Regions from separate parts of the Homo sapiens genome. Here region 2 is linked to region 1. The links are contacts of gene promoters, found by promoter capture Hi-C in blood cells and fetal thymus (Javierre and others, 2016). All regions are on one chromosome and are shown on one strand. Each heading gives the region's core, a stretch centred on a gene start or on the middle of the fragment in contact. The rest is flanking DNA. Distances are from core to core; before and after follow the strand shown. Region 1 holds the start of MCTP2 (multiple C2 and transmembrane domain containing 2). Region 2 overlaps ARRDC4 (arrestin domain containing 4).

Evidence for each region. The method cuts DNA at HindIII sites, captures the fragments that hold promoters and counts their contacts. A CHiCAGO score of 5 or more calls a contact.
Region 2: a contact is called between a fragment that was not itself captured here and the fragment with the promoter of MCTP2 in region 1, in 1 of 17 cell types (M2 macrophages). The highest score is 5.4, in M2 macrophages.

Annotation. Positions count from the first base shown.
Region 1 is chr15:94,230,056-94,233,281 of GRCh38, forward strand. It overlaps MCTP2 (multiple C2 and transmembrane domain containing 2), which reads left to right and starts at 1,506. Exons shown (of 23, transcript NM_001385001.1): 1 at 1,506-1,609. RefSeq lists a silencer at 1,436-1,565. The HindIII fragment of the contact is 9,020 bases long and covers 1-3,226 here.
Region 2 is chr15:97,971,427-97,974,629 of GRCh38, forward strand. ARRDC4 (arrestin domain containing 4) reads left to right here. Exons shown (of 8, transcript NM_183376.3): 8 at 1-2,407. Among named protein-coding and RNA genes, the nearest start is that of ARRDC4, 12 kb to the left of the region's middle. RefSeq lists an enhancer at 1-185. The HindIII fragment of the contact is 1,866 bases long and covers 426-2,291 here.

The DNA.
Region 1 (3,226 bases), core at 256-2,755:
AGCTTCAGGCAGGTTATTTCATGGTTCTGATGCTCATTTTCCTCATCTTGAATCAGAGATTTTATTAACTGTCTCCTGGTTTGTGAAAATTCAATATGATCACGTGTTACATGCCAATCACAGAAACTGGTGCGAAGTTGTGTTCCTCAGTGGTAGCTATTGTTGTAAGTCGGAATTGCATGACAGTGGCAGCTGTTTTCTATCACGTCCTCATGTTTTCTAAATTTTTATGCCCCTTCCTCCCATTTCCTACCTTAGTATTGTTAATAGCTAACTTTTATTAAGTGGTTACCATGGCCCAGGACACTGTAATGAGGATTTTATGTGAATTACCTAATTAATTTCTCAGAAAGTATGAGATAGCTATTATTTTAAGCTATTTAAGCTATTTTAAGCTATTTAAACAACCAGTTTGTTGAAGTTAAAATTTAGAGAGGTTAAGTGAACTCGTCCATTTACACAATTAGTTGCCCAGGCAGAATTTGATTTGAGGTCTGACTCCAAAGCCGGAGCTCTTAATCACCAGTGACACCAACTAAACGCTTCATTTCAGAGCTCGCCTATTCCCAGAGGTCCCATTCCCGTTTTAAGGTTATTTTCTGTAACTCTCTTGTATCTAATTTAAAAATGCTATTTCCCAGAGATGAGTCCCTGATCTCCCAGAAGGCATGGATCATACATTTCTTTTCCTAATCCACCCAAATTCCTAGAGCGCACAGACTTAGGCTCGTTCATAGACGGGAAAAGAAACTGACCAGGCAGTGAAACCGAGCAAACAAAGTGCAATAAGACAATTACAGCAGGAAAGCGGCGTAAAAAAAAGTAGAAAAAGAAAGTAAGGGAAAGGGGAAATAAATAGCAAATATTCGCTGAGTGCCAACAATCGCACGGGAGGGTCTTTAGGGTTCTCTGCCGAGTACTCGGGACGGCTTGCTGAGCAGTACGCCGGCCTTATCTCATAGATGAGGCACCAAGGCTCAGGAAACAGTTCTGTGGATCTGGGCGGGCATCTTCCACCCACAGTCGCGCACACGTGGCATAGGTTAATAGGCTGTCTGGCTCGGGTACCTCTTCCCAGGGTCAGGGCGTTACAAAGGGAGGCTGCTGTCTTCCCATGAATCTATTAGGGACCTACAGGAGCGAAGAGAACCCTTCTGAGTATCAGCGAAGACAGCTTATTAAGACTTTACGAGTTTGCAAGCCATCCTCGTCCTATTTCCTCACTTCGGACTTTTTGGACACACCTTCCTTTTCCTGTGAGCCAACCCAAACGAATGAGTTACAAGTAATCGCCTTCTCTACGCCCAGCCAGTGCCCAGCACCAAGCATAGCGCCTCCTTGCAACACCCGGCCGAGCTCCCGGCGGCAGCGCGGGCGCTTGGGTCGGAGGCTGCTCAAAGGTGACGCGCGGCCGCCTCCTCCCCTTTAGGCGGGGCTCGCAAGGGCGGTGGGGGGGCCCGAGGAAGTCCGGGGGCCCTCGGTGATGCCCCCGCCCCCGCCGCGTCAGGGTTGCTCCCTGCGCTTCCGAGTGGCGACTGCAGCGGGTCCGGTGCAGGTGAGGGGCGCGCGCCTGCCCAGCTTTGCAGCCCCCGAACGCGGCCTCGCACAGGTGAGGGCGGTGCCGGGTTCACCTGGCAGCGCGCGTGGGCCGGGCAGCACGGTCGCCGCCTGGGGGTGGGCGTCTTCTCTCAACCGAAGCTGGGAGTTGGGGAGCTGGAGGGTCCAGGATGAGAATTCAGTGGCGCTACTACCCCGGAGCTGCTTGTGGTTCAGAGATCAGAAAGGTGTCCTGAGGACTGGAGGCAGAAATCCAGGCGTGGCGTACTGGAAGGCGCACTAGGGGAGGGCAGCCTGGCCCAGAATTTCTTTGCATTTTAAAGGCCACACATTCAGTCTCCCCGGGGCGCTACGGAGGTAGTCACCGCCACATCCAGGACTCCTTCCACAGAGGTCAGTTCCTCAGCTGGGTGGGCTTTAATACGCTCTCTTCGTAGAGACCCGGAGGTTCAACTTTAATTCTTTGCGCTGACATTTGCTCAACGACACCGGAGCAGAAATCCTTGGGATAATTGCGTAGGTAACAAACAGTGTCTCAATCCCACTGAAGATAAGTAAGTTAAAAATAAAGACAGTGATGTTGGTGGTGAACTTGAGTGGCGATTAGTTTCCGCAATTAGTTCCCTCCTGCACTGTCCATTTGTTAAGCAAATGTGCTGACGGCTTTTTTTAAATGATTGGGTTGCCATAAAAGAGGTTTTCTCTAGTCTGAATGAACTTCTGTGCGATGCTGACTGAGGGTTTCAGCCTCCTCTAGATGCTTACAAGAGCTTGGTCTGGAAGGTACAAGGGTGCGAACCCTTAAGGTACCAAGCAGCTTCTCAGTGAACCGTGAGACGTTAGAACACTTGCTTCAGGACGCACAGAATTCAGACACCACTTATTGAAGGATTTGTATGGATTATAATTTACATTAGCATTCATTTTTTGCTTGAGTCAGTAGCATTTCAATTCAACAAATATTTATTGTACACCTGTTAACGGGCAGACCTCTGAGAGCCGGGCTGGTGTGCTGTTGGGTAGCACAGGTGTTGATATTAATACAAAGGGGAATCTTAAGGCACTTATTCCTCACAGGTGGGTGTTTAGAACGAGACCAATGGTGCTGCGCTTTGCCTCAGCAGCACCTGTGTAATCGCTGGTTATAAGTATTTAAATGCAGGGAGAATGTAAATCTTTGAAGAGTCTCTGTCATTAGCCTGATCAGTCATTCCAAAGCAATAAAAATTGTCAAAACCATGCTTAAAATAAGATTATTAAGAATTAGCTCTGTGCCAAGCACCATGCTAGGCACTTTGTCTTGTCTATGAAATCTACAAAGTAGATACTATTCCCCTGTGCAGATAAGGAACTGAGGCAGAGAGGAGTCCAGTAATTTGTACAAGGTCAGTGGTGAATTTAGAAATTGCATGTGGCTATTTCTGAGTGCAGAACTCGTACTTTTTCACTATTCCATGCTGTCTCTAAGATGGAGAGTGTAAATCCGGCAGATTTAATATAAGAATTCAAATTTATATTCATAGATCCTATCTCCTGGGGATTAATGGAGTTAAAGTAGTCCTCAGGAATGAAGTGAGCACTGTTTTCATTGCACTTGTGTGGTCAAGCTGTGACCTATCTGTGACTAGTAGATGTAGCTTTAAAAGATAAAATTTATTATGTGTCTTAA
Region 2 (3,203 bases), core at 109-2,608, 3.7 Mb after region 1:
CACAGAATGTAATGGAAGTCCTGATGGTTACAGAGTAAGTGAAAGGGTGCCTGCGCTGACGTGAGAGAAAGGAATCTGTAAACAGTGGAAACACTGTGGGAGTTTCCCATGGTGAAGAGTGGAACGAAGGCGATATGAACTGAAGGGGTGAAGACTTGATTTTGGAGAGGGCAACAAAACAAGGGTGTGTGTGCATAGGAGAATGGCCCACTCCAAATACGAAGTGAGATCCTGAGTCTTTGGGTGCTTCATGATTTCCTACCATATTCAGGCCTAAAGACATTGAAAAAGCATCTTTTCTTGAGATCATGGTCATATGAGGTCCTAATGAAGTACTACAGTTTTCATTCTTTCAAGGGTAGACTAAAATATAGTTTATAAATCGGCAGTACGGTATTATGAAACCAAGAAAGGGTTTCTTGAAAAGCTTGTCGGTTCAAAGAGGAAAGATGAATTTCAATGTGAAAACACGTTTTGTTGAGGGCTGTACTTTTTACCCCCTTTAAGTGCTTTAACAGGATATACGTTTGATTTTCCTCATATCTTATTTACCTAGGAGCATGTAAGAGAAAGAAGGGAGAGAAAAGGTTGCATCTGCAGGATGCCTTGATAACTACACAGTCCCAAATAAAAGGCCTTTTTCTAACCTACCTCTAATGGGGTTATCAGATATGTTTTTAAATCTCTCGCCCTGAGTACTCTTCTTGGGAGTTGCTGCTGTTTACAGCCACAGTCTCATCTATCACTAAATATGAAACTGGGCCAAGGGGAAAATTCAGTAAGTTAGCGTTAAATGGAAGTAAATATATGTATACCTAAGAGAATGTCAAAATAAACACCAAACCAAAAGAAGGTAGGAGTGCCATTTTTAGAAAAGACACAACTTTAATTCCTGTCAAGAGACCTAGGTCTACTGATGGCAGTCACTGCATTGTACATTATTCCAGTTCTTCAGTAATTCTGTTTAAACTGTGATTTTCTTTATTGTGTTGGTGCAATATTTTATTATCATTTAACCTCAGGATATTCAGACCAACAGGATTGTGTTGCTGCTGAAAGTCTGAGCAGTGTTTTACCGTCCCCAGCCCCCCTCCCACATGGTCACATGTTCACTTGCTTTTCCTTCCATCTGTTGGTTTTGTGAGCTGAGAGCATCTCTGGACACATGGAAGGGAGCCAGGGATTCCTGTGATACAGATTTTGAACCAGCAGAGTACTTTGGTTTTCTTCATGTCCTAAGGGTTTGATCCAGAAACCCTGGTGCTTCCCCTGCAGAATACTGTACTTCATTTAACAGAATGATTGATTTTTCTTTCAATCAGCATGTTCACCAAAAATAGAAAAGTTCTTCTAAGGTTAAATTTTGTATTTAAAAGTTAGTTGGCCATTTGATCAGGGAATTTTCTACACACATTAGGCAAATGTATGCTTTTCATCCTCTGGGCTTACCTCTCTCCTCTGCAATCCTGGAAGCATCGTGCATAGTTCTTTCATTGTAAGCCGCTATTTAAATTCCCACAATGCAAAACTGTTAGACCAGTAATTGTGCTACTGAAATTGTCACAAAACGTTATTCCTTGATTTGGTTTTTAAATTTTGCTTTCGTGTGTGTGTCTTTAAACAGGTAATGTGTATTTAAGTGTTGTCTAAACAGTTGATTTTTACTTTAGAAAAGATCATCTTCAACTGTTTATTGACTTCTGAGTTATATAGTTCATGCCCTGCCAAGGCATTGTTCGACTCCATGATACTAAAACATAATGAAAGAAACAAACTCCAGTATGGAGAAGAGAAAGTTTAATTATTTGGTTCCATCTAGAAAAGCAACAACTTAAAGGAATCCTTCACTAGGATTGTCTTATCACCTTTATTAGATAAATCATGAAGTGTCCCTGTGAAATTGAAGTGAAACTATCTCTGTAGGACTTAAGAGAATAGCTAAAAGGTGTGACTTGCCTTATTGAAATGATACTGGCATATCTGACTGTAAGCAGTAGGTTGAAGATATCATTTTATGAATGTGGAGAATTCTACATTGAAACAGAAAATACCTGGGAATGAAGATTAAAAATGTAGCTGCTGTTATTTGCTTGGTTATTCCCCTCTTGCTCTTCTTTAGTTTGAAAAAACAAAAACGTGGCCTTGGAATTTTCATTTTGATGCAGAAATTTTGAAATTGAAAATGTGCATGTTTTGGTGCACAAAATCCTTCTGTGGGCAAAACTTTGTTTTTGTTTTGCACAGTAAGAAACAATAGGCAAGCGTTATGTTTTTGGTAAGTTAACTATGAAAGCTTTCTTATTTTTATTATTAAAAATGTAACAATTTAACCCACAGGAAAAAAAATTACTTTGTATGCTTGTTTGAACCCTATGGGTTCGTTTTATTAATAAAATTATTACACTAATGCTATGAGGTGCTAGTTTTTTTTTTCAAATATAAATTATTATAGACTTAAGGGAACTCAATGCCAAAAAAACAAATGTTGCTGCAGTTGAAATCCTTTTCTCTAGGTGTGTTATCATGAGGGAGGAACAGCCCTAGAACCTGACTTTGTTTTTACAGTGGGCTCCGGTTCCCAAGGTAGTCCAGTGTTAGCATTCCATGAAGAAAAGTAGCTGAGACAAGTGAGGAAACTAAAGCTATATTGGTTAAAAAAGCATATCATCATTTATTCCCAAATGATAAGGATTACTCTTTAAAGCCTCCTGAGTTTGAGTGTGTGATTGTCCAGAATCTCCCCAGGATCGATTTAGCAGGTCTCATGGGTAGTCAAGGGACTCTTCCTGGGACACACTGACCTAAGTATGCCACCCCTTTCTACGCAAACACTCCAGTAGATATGAGCACTATACTTTATACAAGGAGGATGTGATGGTATGTCATTTCAAGGAAACCGCCCAGACCCTCTGCCTGGAAAACTACCACCTGAACTAAGGAGTAAGAATTAGTCCAGTTGGTTTGCTCTTCAGTTATTTCTAGTAGATGGTGTTACATAATAAATAGGTTCTTTCTGTATCCACATTTATAATCAACGTAAGTTGAAATATCTGTCTTATGCGATACTGAGGAAAAATTTTTGATTACCATTACAATTTCTGTAGTTTATGTGTAGTATGAAATTTAGAACTAGGCAAGACACTGCAAAGAAACTAGGACAAAGCCCTCACATTACAAATCAGGATGCCAAAACAGAGAGTTGT